Regions from separate parts of the Homo sapiens genome. Here regions 2 and 3 are each linked to region 1. Evidence: promoter capture Hi-C in human tissues and cell types (Jung and others, 2019). All regions are on one chromosome and are shown on one strand. Each heading gives the region's core, a stretch centred on a gene start or on the middle of the fragment in contact. The rest is flanking DNA. Distances are from core to core; before and after follow the strand shown. Region 1 holds the start of EMX2 (empty spiracles homeobox 2). Region 2 overlaps CASC2 (cancer susceptibility 2). Region 3 overlaps CASC2 (cancer susceptibility 2).

Region 1 (3,354 bases), core at 401-2,900:
TTTTTTTTTTTTTTTAAAGAAAGAAAGAAAAACAAAAACCAGACCGAACCTGCCTTCCCGCTGTGGCTGCTCGGCGCCCCAATTAAGCAGGTCGCGGCGAGAGCGCCAAGCCCTGGAGCTTTCCTCCCGCACGGGTTCCCGCCCCTCCCCAGGCCTCCGAAAAGCAGGAAAGAAAAAACAAATCCCATACTTTTCTCCCGGGGCGCGAGGATCCTCTCGCCTCCAGAAGAGGGTGGAAGACTAAGAAGCCGCGGGTCTGGACTGAAGGGGCGCAAAGTGGGTGGTGAACAGGGTCGAACGCAGTCGAAAGCAAGCCTGGCGGCCGAGTCCTGTCCGCGCCCCTCGGAGCCAGGACGGTTGGGGGCATTGCCGAGGGTACCAGGAGCCTGGGGATCCCGCGGGCTCTGGGCTCCGCGGCGCCGGGCACGCACAGCCCAGCCTGCTCTGATTCGAGCGCACTGGGGGACAACTTCTCCGTTCGCACCCCTTCCCAAAGGGTCAAGCGGCCCGCAGGCCATCACTCCAAACCAGTCGTAGCTTCGGAGACTGGGGATCGACACCACGCCCGGCCCCGCGCCGCCTAGTTTCCCAACAGGGCGCGCTGGCCCGCGAGCCGGAGGAACCTCCGCCCAGGCCTTGCCAAGCGCCCACCCGGAGCAGGCCGGGGGCAGTGAAGGATGCGGCGGGAGCGGCGCGCTGCAGTTCCGCGACGTGGCACGTACCTTGGAAGCGATGACCCAGATATCGGTAGCGGTGGATGAGCCAGGGGTAGAAGGTGGACGGATCCCGCTGCTGCGAGGCGAATAGGGGGTGTGGCGAGTGCGAGGAGGGTAGGGGGTGGGCGGCCAGGGCGTGCGGCGGCGGCACCGGGTGCACTGGCACGGCGGGGTTGGGCGGGTGCGAGACCGCCTCGGCGAACACCAAGTCCGGGTTGGAGTAGACGCCCCTACCGGCGGCGGCGGCGGCGGCCGAGTGGAAGCCGTTGAGGAACGGATTTATGGGGCTGGAGTTAGCGTAGCTGAGTGCCGCGGGACGGATGGGGTCCTCGGAGCGCGAGGCGGGCAGGGGACTGTCCTTGGCCACCAGCGACTCGATGGTGAAGCAGCGCTTGGGCGCCGGCTGGAACATGCTGCGCCGAGGAGCGGGCGCCCTGGGCTCCCAGCTCCTGGCGACCGCCGCACGCTGCCTCCGCCGCCCGCTGCCCGCGGCGAGGACGGACGAGAATTGGGGACTCGTTTGTTTGGGGTGGGGGTGGGGGTGGGGGGAAGGAAAGGAAGAAAGAAAGGAAAGGAAAGGAAAAAGGAAAGGAGGGGGGAGGGAGAGGGAGAGGCAAAGCCGAGGATCCCGAGAATCTTGCACCAAACGCGCCCAACCTGAAGAGAGGGGGGAAAATCCTTCCAGAAGAATTTGCAGGCGTGGATTGGGGTAATTTTTTTTCTTTTTTTTTCTTTTTTTTTCTTTTTTTTTTTTTTTTTTTTTTTTGGCGAGATGGCGTGGGGGGATCGGAGTTAGAGGCAGGGAGGAGAAGGGGGGAAAGTTCTCGGGGGAGGCAAAAAAAAAAAAAAGTTTTTTCTCCTCTGCAAAAGGCGGGCAGGGCGCCCTAAGTCCAAGGACAATCCATGGAAGTGTTCGCTTCTTCACAAGTTGTGCAAACGATTTGTTAGTTCATGAGCCTAATTAGTGCGGGGATCACATAAACAGCTTCCTCCGAAGCCTGGTAAATGGCTTGATGATTGGTCGCTATTACTCGCCCTGAGGTGGAAGGGGGGAGACTCTTTAAAGTGCGTCAGAGGGAGGTGAGCGCCTGGGAACCCGGAGGCCTGGATCCGGGCCGAGAGTGGAACGGAGTCGGCGCCGCCGCCTCGGCTGAGCCTTCTGCCGCCCACCGGGCGGCCGGGCTTCTCCGCGCCTTCGCCCCTCGCTCCCAGCTCACTCGCTCCTGCGGCGCCCGCTGCGGCTTCTCCTCCTCCTTCGCCTCCTCCTCTTCCTCCAGTTTCTTCTTCTCCTCCTCCTCCTCTTCTTCCTCCTCCTCCTCTTCTTCCTCCTCCTCTTTCCCCACCTACTCCCCCTCAGCCACCGCCTCCTCCTCCACCAGCACCACTCCCTCCGGGGCACCCCGGTCCCTGCAGAGTCCCTGGCCGGCGCCGCCTCCGCTGCGGCCCCCTGAATCCCGAGCCTGCCTCGCCCAAGCTGGTAGGACAGAAGGACAGACAGATTCCTCTAGCCTAGCGCTCCGCCGCTGCTGCCTTACGCGGCCCCGCGTCGGGAGAACTGGGATCGCCCCAAGAGCACCGCGAGGGTAAGCGGGCAGGGGCTGGTTCCCGGGCTAAAGGCGCCGTTCGGTTATACCAATCCCCACACTTAGCAAAACTCCCAGCGGTTTCCTAGGCCAGGAGGGATCCTGGAGTGAGGGGTACGGGGTCCTCCCACCCCATCAACCACGCTTAGCCTCGAGGTCCCAGGGTCGGTGCGTTCGCGATTCTTGACCCGGCTCGTTCGTTTGCGAGTTGAGACCGGGAGCTGCCGACCCCGCCGGAGCAGTGGGCTTCCAACTCTCTCCCTCTCTCGCCCCACGGTCTCTAGCGTTTTCTGTCTGGGAGGGTGCTCACCTCCTTCCCCAAAACAATTCCTTCTGGAATATCTGGGACCGGCAGTCCAAGGTCAGGGGAGAGCCCGATATGGTGCTACTGTACTATTAAGGTTCCGTCGTAATTATTTTTGTCAGTGTGGTCAATGTTATTATTATTATAGATGATATTATTTTATTATTATTATTTCTATTATTATTATTATGCCATCTGTTGTCCCGGGGTTGGTGGGGGGGTGGTGGTTGCTGTGCAAACCCAGTGCAACTAACGACTACGGATCGCATCTCCGGTCCCGGGCCGTGTCCGCATTTTCGAGCTCGCCTTCGGTTTTGGGATGATTTTAGGACCGAGTTCCCTCGTCCCCATTGGCTCGCGCGGCGGCATAATTATGATCACATCCCCAGGCTGCTGGCGCTGCTCTCTGTTTATTGGTGGTTAAAGATCTATTATCTATTCATCAGCCGCCTCTTTTTTCCTTTTTTTCCTTTTGCCAATTACATTCTTCTAAAGTGAAGTACCAGCAGGTATTTTGCACGTTTACAATTAATGATAAAAAAAAATTCTAGCGTCGTTTAAAACTATTACTCCCAGGCCCCTGTCATTTCTCCTAAGAACGCAGAATTGCCTGTGTTTGGTGACTAGGTTGCCGTGAAACCTGGGAAGCCGATGGCAATGGGAGGAGAAGAGTGAAGTCCACCGTGAGCCAGGCTGCACTGCCACCAGATGCATAGTTGAGGGGACAGGTCTCAGGACGAGCTACCTGCTT
Region 2 (3,354 bases), core at 378-2,877, 580 kb before region 1:
GACGTGAGTAAACTAAGGAGGTGTGTGTGTATGTGTGTGTGTGTGTGTGTGCCTGTGTGTGTGAGAGAGAGAGAGAGAGCGTGGTGAATGCAAGAGGAAGCTGTTTGAATGTTTGGAGGCAGAAGAAGTGACAGATGGAGGAAGGGGAAGGGAGGTTTTGTGTGTTTCAGGCAAGGAGAAAAGTCTGTACAAAGGCCCGAGCATGAGGTAGAGCCCCAGTGTGTTCAAAGGACTAAGAAAAGTCTAGTGATGGGGGCAGTAGGTGTGAGAGAGCAAAGGTGTGAGTGGTTTGAAAGTGTTTGAACAGGTTGGTGAGGCCAGCATCTACAGGGCTTATAAACCATGTAAAATGGGTTGGGCTTGATTTTCAGGTCATGGGAAGGCATTGAAGGGCTTCTGGCTGGGGTGACATGATCAAATTTGCAGTTTTTAGCATCCCTGACTATTTGAAAGGAGAATGGCTAGAGAAAGATGTGAATGAATGGAAACAATGGAGAGCAGGCAGGAGGCTGTTGCAACCATTCGTGGAAGAGACACTGGGGGCATAGGGGACAGAAAAAGTGGCTGGAGCCCAGGCAAGGTTAGGGTTAACAGGAAGTGGTGATAGATTATGCAGGAGAGGGGTCCCTGATATCTCCTAGATTTCTAGATCAAGGAACGGGCTCTTCACACTTTGCATGTCATCTCATTGCTTGTGTATCTTCCCATCTTCCTCCTGCACGCAGGAGAGAGCTACCCAGAAGCGTGCAGCAGGAAGATGGGCCATTTGCCTAAGAATTCATGCTTGCTGAAATATTAACTAGCTAGTAGTTTCCTCTGGTGATCCCTAAAAATTCTTATTTAGGAATTTATTATCCAGGAAATGAGAATATTCTGTACATTCCTTTCAAGGGACCCTCCATAAGGCAGAGACTTACTGAAAGCAAGCTTTATACATTCCTGGTGTCTTTCCACCCATTGAGATCAAAGTCCTCAAGAGTCATTGGTTTGGGTTATAATGATCATTCAGAGTTTAAGTAAAAATTAATGAAGCACACATTTTTATTCAATGTAAGGAAGGACTTTTCAAAAAGGAAATGAGCTGCCTCAGGGGCAAGCGCTGTTCACTCCTAAGGACTAAGCTCAAATATCACCTCCTAAGATGCCAGCCCAGAGTCCGCCAGGCAGAGTTCAACATTCCATTCTCCTTGCCCCTGCACATTGTTTATTCCTCCACCATCATGCTCACTTCCTCTTATTATATCTTATTACAAAAGAATGTGAATACAGTAAAGTTTTGGGAATTTACATACAGAAATAAGTAGCATTTCAATACCCCAATAACAATCTAGCAGAGGACCAAATTGAGAAGGCAATTCCAATTACATTAGCTACCAAAAAAATATATTTAACCAAGGAGGTGAAAGATCTCTCTAAGGAGAACTACAAAACACTGATGAGAAATTATAGATGACACAAACAAATGGAATAACATCCCGTGCCAAGAATTGGAAGAATCAATACAATTAAAATGACCATACTGCCCAAATAATTTACAGATTCAACACAATTCCTATCAAATTACCAATGTCATTTTTCACAGAATTAGAAAAAACTATTCTATAATTCATATTAAACCAAAAAAAAAAAACCCTAATAGCTAAAACAATCCTAAGCAAAAAGAGCAAAGCCAGAGGCATCACATTACCTGACTTCAAGTACACTACAAGGCCATAGTAACCCAAACAGCACAGTACTGGTGTAAAAATACATAGATCAATGGAACAGATGAGAGAACCCAGAAATAAAGCCACATATCTACAGCCAACTGATCTTAGACAAAGTCAACAAAAACGTACACTGGGGAAAGGACATCCTATGCAATACATGGTGCTGGGACAATTGGATAGCCATATGCAGAAGGATGAAACTGGACCCATACTTGTCACCATGTACAAAAATTGACTCAAAGTGGATTAAAGACTTAAAGGTAAGACCTGAAACTATAAAAATCCTAGAAGAAAACCCAGGAAAACTTGTTCTGGACATAGGCCTAGGCAAAGAATTTATGATCAAGTTCTCAAAAGCAAACACAACAAAAATAGACAAATTGAGACTTAATTAAACTAAAAACTTTTGCACAGCAAAAGAATCAGCAAGGTAAACAAACAACCTAAGGATGGGAAAAAATATTTGCAAACTACACATCTGACAAAGGGCTAATATTTAGAAACTACAAGAAATTCAAACAACTCAACAAGGAAAGAAAAACCAAATAACCCCAATACAAAGTGGGCAAAGGATATAAGCAGAGAGAAGATATACATCAGCCAAAAAACATATGGAAAAAATGCTCAACAGCACTAATTATCACAGAATACAAATTAAAGCAACAGTAAGATACCATCTTATACCAGTCAGAATGGCTATTATTAAAAATCAAAAAGCAACAGAGTTGGCAAGGATGTGGGGAAAAGAAAATGCTTGTACACTATTAGTGGGAATGGATAGAGTTCAACCTCTATGGAAAACAGTGTGGAGAATCCACAAAGAACAAAAAAAATAGAACTACTCTTTGATCCAGCAATCTCATAACTGGTATATACCCAAAGGGAAAGAAAACACTATATCAAAAAGTTATCTGCATTTGTATGTTTATCACAGCACTATTCACAATAGGAACATGGAATCAACCTAAGGTCAACCTAAGTGCCCATGAGTGCAGGACTGAATGAAGAAAATGTGGCATATATATATGAATACTATGCAGCCATAAAACAGAATGAAATCATGTCTTTTGTAGTGACATGGATGGAACTGGAGGCCCTTATCCTAAGTGAAACAACTCAAAACAGAAAATCAAGTACTGCATGTTCTCACTTACAAGAAGTGGGAGCTAAAGAGTGGGTACAAACGGACATACAGAGTAGAGTAATACACGTTGGAAACTACAAAAGACGGGAGGATGGGAGAGCAGCTGAGGGGTGGAAAAATAACCTGTTGGGTACGGTATTAGTCTGTTCTAACACTGCTATAAAGAACTACCTGAGACTGGGTAATTTATGAAGAAAAGAGGTTTAATTGACTCACAGTTCTACAGGCTTAACAGGAAGCATGACTGGGAGGCCTCAGGAAACTTACACTCAGGGGAAGAGGAAGCAAGCACCTTCTTCACATGACAGCAGGAGAGAGAGAGCAAAGGGGAAAGTGCCACACACTTTTAAACCACCAGATCTCATGAGAACTCACTCACTGTCACAAGAACAACAAGGGGGAAATCTGCCCCATGATCTACTCACCTCCCACCAGGCACTTCCTCCAATTCAACATGAGATTTGGGCAGGGACACAAATCCAAACTGTGTCAGGTACAGTG
Region 3 (3,354 bases), core at 231-2,730, 540 kb before region 1:
AAGACAACTGATCCTACCCACTCTGGTCTTATGTTTCCCCATTTGTAAAAGGAGTGGGTCCAATGAGAGGGTCTTCAAGCCCCCCTTCTAACTCTAAAAATTTATAATTCTGAGGTCCTGCATTTCCCAAAGATATAAAATGCTTGATCTTGGTGTTGATCAGATAACCAAAGAAGCAAACACGGCCTAGTGCAGTGGCTCAGGCCAGACGTGGTGGCTCACGCCTGTAATCCCAGCACTTTGAGAGGACGAGGCAGGCGGATCACTTGAGGTCGGGAGTTCAAGACCAGGCTGACCAACATGGAGAAACCCTGTCTCTACTGAAAAAACAAAATTAGCCAGACGTGGTGGCACATGCCTGTAATCCCAGCTACTCGGGAGGCTGAGGCAGCAGAATTGCTTGAACCCAGGAGGCAGAGGTTGCAGTGAGCCGAGATGGCGCCATTGCACTCCCGCCTGGGCAACAAGAGTGAAACTCTGTCAAAAAAAAAAAAAAAAAAAAGAAGAAGAAAACACAAGTTAAAATATTAGAAAAATTATATACTTCTGAGTTTATTAACCAAACACACTAAATATTTGTGTATTCACAATTTCCCTATCTTAAAATTATCTAAAAGTCCAACATCCAGCCTGGTTAAGTGTCATTTTTTATATTTGTAATTAAAAACAAAACAACTACTCAATGTTATCATGTACCAAAATTGCATGTCAGGAACAAAACATTAGTGAGTTGAATTGCAGTCATCGTATATGTCATATTTCAGTGCTTGATTCTAGTCTGAGACAGAGACATATATGGCTCCATATCTCTTTAAAATTTTTAAAAAATTGCACGTCTGTCTTTTTCTGATTTGATGTAAGGCTTTAATGTTGATATGCTATTTTATAGGCTCCTTAAACTAAAAAAACTAGTGTAGATAAAAAACAAACTATATGTCTAAGAAATTTACCCTGAACAAAGGCTGAGAGGGAAAAAAACCTTCATTATTTTAGCTGAAAAATGGCAGATTAGTTCATTGAGTTTTAACCAAGACTTAAACCCAGCATAAGTTTGGGGTGGGATAAGGTCAGTAGGTACGGGTGTTGGGGGGGCGCCTACAAGAGCCCCTTATGGCCCAGCTGAGGTCTCATACTTCTTTACTTTTGAGATTATTTCTAAAAGAGATTAAATATTCTGTTATTCTATTTATTTTGTGCTACACGCAATAATTTATAAAATATCATTTGAAATACACTAACATTTAGGAAATCTGATTTTGCAATTTGTTCATTTTTTTAATGTATTCAGAAGCCTTGAGAAATGTAGCGGACTTGATGACTTGATTGTGGCTTCATTATTGGTTTCTAGAGCTGCTTATTGGTTACTGACAGAATCTAAGCTCCATGAAACATGGGATGTTTGTCTATTTCACTCATTGCTGTGTCCCCAGTGCCCAGAACAGTCCCTGGCACACAGCAGGCACTCAAACAAAATTTGGCTAATAAATAAAGGACATTAGTATATTTGTGATTTCTGTTTGCAAAATGTCCATTCTCGAGTGAGAGAGAGGACTTTGGGGAAGCCTGCAGGAATTAATTGATAAATAATGTAATATTTCAATCTTTCTATGGGATAGCCCTCAAATTGTGTTCTGATCCATTCTTTAAAACAAGAAAAAGTGAATAAGCAAATACCCAATAAAAGCAGGCAGCAGTAATAGATAATACAAACGAGGATGCAATTTTTAGTTACTTTTCAAACTCTCTCTCTCTCTCTCTCTCTCTCACTTCAGGCTGTTTATATTGGTCAGAAGAGAATTGGATGGATGGATGGATGGATGGATGGATGGATGGATGGATGGACAAATAGGTAAGACTGGGAAAGACTGACTGCTTTATCTCCCCTTTAGAAACTTGATAATTATAGCAATAATAGCTAATACAGGGCATACATGGTGCTTATCTTGTGTCAGGCTCTGTTCTAAGGGCTTTATATATACGATATATATCAATGGAAGTAATTCTCACAACTACTCTGAGAGATATGCCCTATTTCTGACTCCATTTTGCAGATGAGGAAATTGAGGTGCAGAGATATTGACTTGCCCAAGATCACACATTTAGTCAGTGGTGGAATCAAAAGTTAGATCACAGTGGGGTCTCTGGAGTCCACACTCCTAACCACTTTGGTGTAGTGCCTCTAAGACTCAGTAAAGAAACATCTCTACCTCTCTTTAACCCACTGTTCCCAAAATTATTTGACCACAATGTACCAGTCAATATCTTTAGAACATAATCTGGCAAACGCAGAAGCATGATATTTGTTTGGTACCTTACAAGTCAAAATGTTTGACCTTGTAAATAGGGAAATGAGTTATAATCAGAAATGTTCTCCTAATTTTAGGAAAGAGTTAGCATGAATTGAGTTTGAATTCTCAGCTTCCACATGCCATATAACTCACCTATGAAACAACAGAAGGAGGCAAGATATTCTTTGCCATTTCTTAAAAATGAAACAACTTCTTTGATTGATATTCGTGAGTTGCAAACCAAACAAAACTATGTAAAAAAGTGCATAGCTGGCAAAATGGCATGACAAATGATACCACGAAGTTCATGAGGAAAGAAAGCTAAGAAACGTTCCATTCTCCAAAGTAATTGAAACCTAGGCTTTACCATTCACTCATGAACCATTCCAGCTGAGAGGTTCTTCTCACAGCCACCAGCAGACCCTGAGTGAACCCTGGTGCAAAATCTAACGTAGAACACTGCTGTGTTGTGCATGCCTGCATAGGCCCTCAGGAAGGGGAAATAGGTTTGGCTAGGTAAGGATATATTTCTTAGGGAATAGGAAAGACAAGCTTGCCCCTCTCAAAGGCACACAATCCAGGTCTGCCATACAGAAGAGGGAGCTTTGAGCATCTTTATTTTAGCTGCATTGTGAATTCCTGCTCCCATCCACCAATATCAAGTTTAAGGTGGGGAAGGGTGTCAGGTGGGAATGACAGAAGGGCAAGACCCACAGGTAGAAAAAGAAGCTGCCAAGTCACTCCATTCTCACCCCTTGTCACCTGGGGTGGACATCAATGGCAGCTTTGTCTTAAACAAGAGCTTTGGTCAAGCAAAGGCCTTTTGCAATACGCCGACAGCTTTGGTTTAGTTTTACCACTAATCAGTGCTGAATGGAACGTGGATTCAATACACTCTCAAAAGGAAAGCGCTTGGTAAGCTGAGGCTTTCTGGGTTTTCTCTGGAACTTTTTTATTAAAATTCTGATTATTGCTGGGTCTACAAATCAGATAGTAAAAGAATCCAGAATATATGGCCATGCTTCATAATGCATAGCATATGAACTAACTTGCAAACCATGCTCTT

Evidence for each region. The method cuts DNA at HindIII sites, captures the fragments that hold promoters and counts their contacts. A contact is called where the count stands out against the background at its distance.
Region 2: a contact is called between a fragment that was not itself captured here and the fragment with the promoter of EMX2 in region 1, in 1 of the 25 tissues and cell types used here (lymphoblastoid cells).
Region 3: a fragment that was not itself captured here is called in contact with the fragment with the promoter of EMX2 in region 1 in 1 of the 25 tissues and cell types used here (lymphoblastoid cells).

The regions. Positions count from the first base shown.
Region 1 is chr10:117,541,042-117,544,395 of GRCh38, reverse strand. It overlaps EMX2 (empty spiracles homeobox 2), which reads right to left and starts at 1,650. Exons shown (of 3, transcript NM_004098.4): 1 at 723-1,650. The coding sequence starts at 1,128. It also overlaps EMX2OS. RefSeq lists an enhancer at 1-435. The HindIII fragment of the contact is 12,526 bases long and covers 1-3,354 here.
Region 2 is chr10:118,124,730-118,128,083 of GRCh38, reverse strand. The region is part of intron 3 of CASC2 (cancer susceptibility 2); the gene reads right to left. Among named protein-coding and RNA genes, the nearest start is that of RAB11FIP2, 79 kb to the right of the region's middle. The HindIII fragment of the contact is 5,467 bases long and covers 1-3,354 here.
Region 3 is chr10:118,080,222-118,083,575 of GRCh38, reverse strand. All of the region lies in intron 3 of CASC2 (cancer susceptibility 2), which reads right to left. Among named protein-coding and RNA genes, the nearest start is that of RAB11FIP2, 35 kb to the right of the region's middle. The HindIII fragment of the contact is 4,931 bases long and covers 1-3,354 here.